Regions from separate parts of the Homo sapiens genome. Here regions 1 and 3 are each linked to region 2. The links are contacts of gene promoters, found by promoter capture Hi-C in blood cells and fetal thymus (Javierre and others, 2016). All regions are on one chromosome and are shown on one strand. Each heading gives the region's core, a stretch centred on a gene start or on the middle of the fragment in contact. The rest is flanking DNA. Distances are from core to core; before and after follow the strand shown.

The links. The method cuts DNA at HindIII sites, captures the fragments that hold promoters and counts their contacts. A CHiCAGO score of 5 or more calls a contact.
Region 1: a contact is called between a fragment that was not itself captured here and the fragment with the promoter of CDC42BPB in region 2, in 1 of 17 cell types (total B cells). The highest score is 5.8, in total B cells.
Region 3: a contact is called between a fragment that was not itself captured here and the fragment with the promoter of CDC42BPB in region 2, in 2 of 17 cell types (naive B cells and total B cells). The highest score is 5.9, in naive B cells.

The regions. Positions count from the first base shown.
Region 1 is chr14:102,682,472-102,685,171 of GRCh38, reverse strand. The region is part of intron 3 of RCOR1 (REST corepressor 1); the gene reads right to left. Among named protein-coding and RNA genes, the nearest start is that of RCOR1, 91 kb to the right of the region's middle. The HindIII fragment of the contact is 2,642 bases long and covers 32-2,673 here.
Region 2 is chr14:103,055,892-103,058,813 of GRCh38, reverse strand. CDC42BPB (CDC42 binding protein kinase beta) reads left to right here and starts at 1,265. Exons shown (of 37, transcript NM_006035.4): 1 at 1,265-1,815. The coding sequence starts at 1,641. RefSeq lists an enhancer at 128-778 and silencers at 774-883, 924-1,423, 1,514-1,593. The HindIII fragment of the contact is 17,633 bases long and covers 1-2,922 here.
Region 3 is chr14:102,708,096-102,710,889 of GRCh38, reverse strand. RCOR1 (REST corepressor 1) reads right to left here. Exons shown (of 12, transcript NM_015156.4): 6 at 2,307-2,425. Among named protein-coding and RNA genes, the nearest start is that of TRAF3, 68 kb to the left of the region's middle. RefSeq lists an enhancer at 1,990-2,794. The HindIII fragment of the contact is 461 bases long and covers 1,144-1,604 here.

The DNA.
Region 1 (2,700 bases), core at 103-2,602, 370 kb after region 2:
TTTTTATAATTACAACATAACTTTATAAGCTTTCAGTAACCCTAAGAGGCAGAACTCTGAACAGCCACTTTGAAAAGAAGAGGAAAAAAAAAACACACACACACACACAAGAAAAGCCAGGGATCTCCAGACATCCTATACACAGTTTTTTAGTATCTGCTAGAAATATGTCCTAAATCACTTATTTCTACTTAATGTCAGAATAAATGCTGGACAACCAAGACTTCCATATTCTTCCAAAACTGAGACACCTAAATTTTCAATAGAGTAATTGTTAAACATACTGACATATCCATGTAATAAAGTATTACACCTAGTTATTTAAAACCTTTATAAGCAGTTTTAACAACGTGGAAACTGCTTAGGTCCGATGCTCAGGAAGACAATACACACATACACACACACAGATAATCTATCATCTCACTTATATAAATACATACAAAAAAAATTGGAAGAAATACCCCAAAATGTTTAACGATTATCACCTCTGGGTGATGGAATAATAGGTGAATTTTTTTTATTCTTTATACTTTTATCTATGAACTTTCAACAATATGTAAATATTACTTTTAGGTAAGTGTTTGTTTTGTTTTTTTCCCAGAGTAGAAATCATTGCTCTTTCCTGATAGAAAATAATGCATTTCTACAAAGCCGTCCTCATCCTGCCTTCTCGCTAGTGGACTTTGTTCACTCTCAGTGCTCCGTGTTTACTCGGTTAATAAATGGAAAGACAGATGTATTCTATAAAGTCAATCCTTTTTTATGCCATCTAAGGAAAACCCCTAGGTCTCATGCACCCCAAGGCCCTTCCACCCTAACAACTCGATTTCCCTGAAAGGTATGTCTGGAAGCCCTTCCGTGACAAAGTAAATAAATCTTGATATTTCTCTTCAATTTTCATAACGTGAACACTACCGATGAGCCCTTGCTTAGTTCATCTGTCTTCCACTGCCTGACACTGACAGGTCATTTCCACGGGTTTGCTATGCAGCCGCTTGAGGTTCAGACTCCGCAGCGGGTTGGGGGCAGGGGTGCTGGGGCCTCCCGTGCGAGTTGGATTCTGGAGGAAGACAAGGAACCTGTTCCTAGCGCTCAGCCGGGTCCTGCGATGGCTGTGGCTGTGACTATGGCCAGGAAAGAGGCAGAGAGGCGGGATACGGTCAGAGCTGCGGGGGCTGGGGCGGAGAGGGCTGCTCCCAGGTCACGGCGCACCCAGGCGCCTCCCCCAGCTGCCAGCCCCACCTCGGCTGCTGCTCCACAGCAGGAGGGTGCAGCCCCAGCCCCCGCAGAGCTAGGGACTGGTGTATGGGGAGCAGGCCGGGTGCCCCGGGATGAACTTGAGGCCCAGCACTGCCAGCTTCCAGCTGTGGGAAGGGCTGGTGGCAAGAGGGACCCGGAAGCAGCACTGGGCCCGAGGGCGGAGATCAAGGGACATCTCCCTAAGCGTGGCCGAGCGCACTGGCTGCCATCTCCAGGTCAGCGGGGGCCACATTCGCGCACGGAACATCAGCGCGCCCCCAGAGGAGAGCTTGGCCCAAAGCATCCTCCGATTCCCAAGAGAAGTTGCCCACATTGCTTGGGACCCCCGGGGAAGCCCCGCTGGTGGAACAGTAGGGGTCAGCACCCCAGGCTGACCAGGGTCTGGGATCGGGGGGACCTGCGCCCAGGTGGCCTCCACGCTGGCGCTGCTCTGGCTTCTTTTCCGTGCTCCACCTCTCCAATTCTGAAACCAAACCTGGACTCGTGGCTCGGGAGTCTGTTTTTCTGGCCGGTTCTTTTCTGACAGTAATTCCAGGACAAGGGTCCGTTTCAAAGGCCTCAGTAAGAATCGTGTATTGATATCTGTCAAATTTGGTCCTCCTATGCCTCTGGCCTGGCTCAAGTGTGTCTCAGCCACAAGCCGAGCTCGCTGTCCACTGGGAGCCTCAGTGGACAGGTTAGTTTTTTTAAAGTTTAAAGTTTTAACCAACTTTAAACTTAAAACGATTGTAATCAGGGCTTACAATAAAACTGTAAATTTATTTTATAGGCAACACCACTGTTTAAAAATCAATTAACTTTACATATTCTGCCCTTTTCTTCTAGGTCTATGAAAAATAAGATAACATTAAAATTAAATTCTGACTCCAAAGACTCCAATAAGCAATACAATAGGAAAAGTGACTAATACAACTTTAAACTGTAATAACAGAAAGATAGTGGCTAACAGGCTAAATGAACACAGCCTGAGAAATAAGTGAGATTATGACCCAGGAGTGAACTACTTGGGGTTCCGCCACTCACTATCTGTGCTACTTTTACAACCCTCTGACTCTTTGAACTATGGGATGCCATCTGTAAAACAGAGAAAAAATCTTCCTCCTGGGTTACTGTGAACACTGAATGATACAGGAGTATGAAAAACATTTTAGTACTGTGCTGGCATAAAGGTTCAAAAAATGCTCAGTATTCTTCATATTCAGTTCTGAGTACAATTTAAGATGGACATTGTGGCCAACTGGAACACACTTAGAAGGACAACAGGAGATGAAAAGAGATCCCCAAAAAAACCATCTGAAAAGGCACCTGAAGCAACTAGCTTGGACTCAGACAGTAAAGGAGATACGATGACTGAACATTTAAAGGACACATATGGAAGCAAACTTATTTAGCAAAGTTCAGGAAAACAAAGCTTTTACAAATTACAGGGAGGCAGATTTT
Region 2 (2,922 bases), core at 16-2,515:
GGGGTTTCACCGTGTTGCCCAGGCTGGTCTCGAAGTCCTGAGCTCAGGCAATCCGCCCACCTCGGCCTCCTAAAGTGCTGGGATTACAGGTGTGAGCCACCGCGCCAGGCCCACTCCTATTTTTAGCTCCAGAGATTAGTTTTGCTTCAGGCTCCCTTAACGTCCTGCTTCAAACCCCTATCTGCCCCTTCATCGGCTCCACCTGGAGGCCACCGCTTCCACGGAAGCATGACCCCTTCCCCTGCACCCGCGCGCCCCAGAAGCTCTCAGATACCCCCACGATTTCGGTGACCTTCCGCAAGCTCCAGGAAAAGCCCCTCCTCTCCTGACGCCAAGGGTTTGTTGGGGTTGGGGGGTATCTCCATCAGCCTCCCTCCCCCAGCCACCCAAATTAACCAACAATCTTAGTAAATGCAGCGACTCGCTAGGCAAACCCAGCCTGGAGACAAATATCCGGCCCCTTTCCTACCAAACTGTCACACCTAGGCATTGGTCTGCAGGGAGGGCTGGACAGTGGAAACTGAAACCCTCTGCAAGCCATCACGAATCCACCGGGCACTGGGGACGCTGGCTCCCGCCTTGGCAGCATCCCCCAGAAGCCTGGGCCCTGACCCCACACCGTCTGGGCCTCAGTCTCTCATCGGTAAAGTCAGGGGTAGGGCCCGAGTCTTCCAGGACCGCTTCGAGCTGGGACAAGCCGTTTTAAATAGCCCACAACCCGCCGAGGCCATCAGAGCTGCGCCTGCCGGGCCGCCCTCGACCCCCACCTCGGCCGGGCAGGTCCGAGGCCCCGCAGGCAACATGGGCCCGCGGACTGCGGGACGGGGCTCGACGGCCTGAGATCGCGACTCTGCCTCTCCGATACTTGGGGTCGTCTTCGGCCCCGGGATCCGCGACGCGCGCGGTCGGACCCCGAATACTGAAGGCACCGGGTCCGCAGGGCGAAGGCGCACACGCCCACCAGGCGCGCTCTGCGCATGCGCGGGCTCCGCAATCTCAGCGGCCCACTCGCCCCGCCCCGCCCCCCCCACCCCCACCCCGCGCCGCTCCCCAGGCCCGGCCCTGCCTTCCCAGCATCCCGGCTCCCTACGGCAAGCGGCGAGGCCCGAGCCCGCCGGGAGCAGGGAGCCGGGCGCGGGGCGGGGCGGCGCGCTGAGGTCAGCGCGGCGGCGGCCGGCCCCGTAGTGGTTGGCTGCGCTGGTGCTGGCCGCGCCCTGGTTGGCTGCGGGCCGCGGGGCTGGGCCGCCGGGTCGGGGCTGGGGTCGGGCTCGGGCGCCGGCCGGGCTTGCGCAGCGCTAGGCTCCTCGCCGCTCCTAGTCTGCGGCGGCGGCGGCGGGGAGGGCGCGGCCGCGGGCGGGGCTGAGGGCGGCGGGGGCGGGCCGCCCGAGCTGGGAGGGCGGCGGCGCCGAGGGGAGGAGAGCGGCCCATGGACCCGCGGGGCCCGGCGCCCCAGACTCTGCGCCGTCGGGACGGAGCCCAAGATGTCGGCCTAGGCCGGGGCGCGACGACGCGGACGGGGCGGCGAGGAGGCGCCGCTGCTGCCGGGGCTCGCAGCCGCCGAGCCCCCGAGGGCGCGCCCTGACGGACTGGCCGAGCCGGCGGTGAGAGGCCGGCGCGTCGGGAGCGGGCCGCGCGGCACCATGTCGGCCAAGGTGCGGCTCAAGAAGCTGGAGCAGCTGCTCCTGGACGGGCCCTGGCGCAACGAGAGCGCCCTGAGCGTGGAAACGCTGCTCGACGTGCTCGTCTGCCTGTACACCGAGTGCAGCCACTCGGCCCTGCGCCGCGACAAGTACGTGGCCGAGTTCCTCGAGTGGGGTAAGTGCGCGCCGGCAGGGCCGGACCTGCGGCTCTGCGACCCCCGCGCCCCAGCCCGCGCATCCCCACGCCCGCCCATCCCCGCCCGGACAGACCCTGCCGCCCTCCTGCCCACCCAGCTCGTGGGCTTCGCCTCCTCTCGCTCTGGCAGCGCCCCCAGGCCCGCAGCCCATCTCTCTCCAGCCGCTCCTTGCACCCTCGTCCCTCCGCTAGCTTTTCATCCCTCCTTGCCCTCCCTAGGCTCGACATCCGCGTTCGATCGTCCCGCCCCCTCATCCTGCCCCTTGGAGCCACATCCTACGTTCCCACTCCCACCCCCTCCCCCCCGCCGGGCCCTCGCCCTGGCGGCTTCCTAGATCCACCCTCCGAGTCTGGATATCATTTCCTGCAGCACTCACTGGGATATCCGCCCCCGCCCCCGCCCCCGCCCCCGCACCTCGCCTTTGGGGTCCGGAGGCAGTGTGGAATTAGTTCCCTTTCCCCACCCCACGCTTCTCTGCGTTGTGGGGGCAGCTGGGTGTGCTTTCTGCATCTGCCTCGCCCACTGCCCCGTGGGACCCCCTTGCATCCCCAGGGAGCCCAGCTCTAACGGCCCCTCCTGGGTGACAGCCTGTCTACATCCCCTTGTTGGTCAGAGCCTGAATACCTACTTTGCTGTAACACCTTCAAGGGAATTTTAAGGTTAAGGCTTTATTTTAAATAAACCGTGCAAGAGGACTTTTTTTTTTTAATTCCAATTCTGCTAGACCTTTGTGATATTTGGAGGGGTAGCTGGAGCTATCACTTAGAAACTTTCTCATCTGAATTTTGCATGCCTTCTCTAGTTCGTTCCGGATCTATAATGTTTTAATCATTGGTCAGCTAACCTATTATGCTTTTTTAGGACAAAAATTTGATTAAACCATTTAACGATAATTAGGATCCTAAAGACAGGTAAAAGTGCAGCGTGAAACTCTTTTACTTCATCTCTCCCTAACGGGTGTGCCGGTCAAGACCCTCAGACTGTCTCACCTAAAACCACTGAGTAGGAGGAGGAAATGCGTATGTTCAGGCCAAACCTATGAAAACCTTATCCTTGGGTCATTTGCGTCACTGGGCTAGGACTGT
Region 3 (2,794 bases), core at 125-2,624, 350 kb after region 2:
TTCCGAATACAAACGATAAATTGATTTAACTGAAAATTTTGTACTAATTTTACCAAATATAAATAATAAACTGATTTAATATAAAATTAGTATGTTTTCAGGCTGCTGAGATAAAAACATCTTTGTAATTCAAACAGAATACCAACTCCATAGTTCTTTCAGTCTAAGTGATGAGAAACTACTAAAATAGATTCCTAACTTCCCAATCCAGATCTAAAACACTATTGCTCTATATCTGTAAACTGAAAATATCAAAATGAAAATGCATTTACATGTTATTTTCTCATAATTATCTATTGAGGACTAGGATATGATTACTAAACAAAACTGAGAAATTATGGGAGAATAAATTTCCACTGCATTGGGAATAAACCTGCTAACAGTAAAAAAATCCTTTTCCAAGTACCGTCTTTCTACCCAAGGCCACACAAAGTCTGAGGCTTTTCTGGTGTCCTGGACAACTGATGTTTTAAAATTATGTTTAATTTTAAAAAGAAAACTTACATTGGTATAGCACTTTAAATGCTTTTTGTAATATCCTGAATGTAGTATTTCATTTAATTTAAAACAAAGAAACAAGAAAAGCCCCGATGTAGGTAGGAATGCAACTGTAAAAAAAGAAAACTAAGTCTACAGAAGTCAAGTAGCCTGCCCCAGTTTGCCCACCTCGCACTGCCTCTGGAATCCATCCCACGGGACCATGCCCACTACGCGCCACCTCCTCCCCATCCTCCACCAAGGTAGCAGGAAGCTCTAGCTGAGGAAAGAGTGTCCACAACAAGAAAGAGCCTTCGGCTAAGGGAATTTTGTCCCAGTCCCTGCCATGACTTTCACAGGCAAGTCCTGTTAGAAAGCCAACAATTTATCAGGTGCTGCTGCAGCACCTCCATCCCCGCATCCCAAAAGTGGTTGAGGTGCACATGGGAGGTGGAGGCAAAGCACTTCCTGGCCCCATCGGGACTAATGCAAAAAAAAAGCCTCCAGGGAGTAAGAATGGAAGTGTTGGCAGGTATTCTTATTTCACACTCAAGGATATCCAATCCCACTCTGTATTATTTAATTTTGATTGCTGCTTAGTAAACTGCATCTGCTTATAGTAACAGACTTACTATATAGACAGTAAACTAGGGAAATGAAAAAGCTTCATTAAAAGTTAATAAGAGTACTCATCCATAAATAAACCTACTAGTATATAAGTCAGAGGCAAAAATATGCAGATGTATCATGGTCGATAATTTTATAGGCTCTTACAATTAAAAGAGCTTTGGAGATGTTCTTAACATCACTCTCAATTTATACTTGGGCCAAGAGGTTTGAATTCTCCAAAAGTGATACTCAACTTTCAATGTGTTCTCACATGTTACTCTTTCATTTGAAATGATAAAATTCCATCCTGAGATGGGACACCGGGGACCATATATTTCATCCTCCTTCATTTTATTTTTTTATTATTAATTGATAAAAATATTACAGGAAATGTGGAAAATAGGATTTTTTAAAACCCACCTATATATCTCACCACCCTAACAAGGAAACCACTAGGTCTGCATGCTGCCTTCTGGACTTCAAACATCTTCATTTTAGAGTTAAGGAAAACAGAAGCTTGGGGAAGACGCATGTTGAAGTCACCTGCCTGTGAGTATGTACAATTTTACACATTTTAAAAAATAAATTAAAGACCTTAAACATCCCAGTGTAGCCTGTGGCATGTAAGTGGAATCTTCAGAGCTGAGACCAGAGCCCATTTCTGAGTGTGAGTACCTGGCCATTTCTACTTCTCTATGCTACATATAAGACTGAGGAAGTGATGGTTAAGAAGTATTCTCCATACTGAGCTATCCTTAAAACTAATATCCTTACTAAGAGATTATAAAATGTTTCTCTTTCTCATTCACACACAAAAAACAGATGGTCAAAAAAAGAAGCAGCAACTCTAAGTTGTATTTTTGTTTCCACATGGCAAACATAAAAACACACCAAATGAATCTTGTAAAAATATACCACGTTAAACCTCAAACTACAAAATAAAAGATTCTTTTTTATTAAAAGGAGCCACCCCTTCTAAATGGGAAGGAAAAAAAATGGGTCAAAGTTAACTGACTCAAAATGGAAGTTCACTGACTGCAGGGAAAGAGTGGTGAGAAAAAATACCTGAATAATGTGACACGCTCTAATACATCTCATGAACATGTGGTTCCACCAGGAAGGCGCGGAGGGAAAACCAGTCATTCTGCCTTGCCTTTGTGTATCTGGGGCTCTTAGATAGTCCCCTAAGTGGTTAGACAACACCCCAGCCATGTGCTCACCTCTCCTCCCGCTCCCGTTTTTGTTTCCGGGCATGGCGATCCATCACACTAGTTTTAGTCCTCGTCTTCTTCCAAGAATAGTAAAATTTCACCAGACTTGCTATAGATTTATCTGGAAGCTAAACATAAAAAATGAGTTGGTTTATTTAAATAAAAAAGTAATCTTTAAAAATCAAATGTTTAAGGCCGGGCGCAGCGGCTCACGCCTGTAATCCCAGCACTTTGGGTGGCTAAGGCAGGCGGATCACGAGGTCAGGAGATGGAGACCATCCTGGCTAATATGGTGAAACCCCGTCTCTACTAAAGATACAAAAAATTAGGCCGGATGTGGTGACTCACGCCTGTAATCCCAGCACTTTGGGAGGCCGAGGCGGGTGGATCACGAGGTCAAGAGATCGAGACCATCCTGGCCAACATGGTGAAATCCTGTCTTTACTAAAAATACAAAAAATTAGCCGGGCGTGGTAGCGGGCGCCTATAGTCCCAGC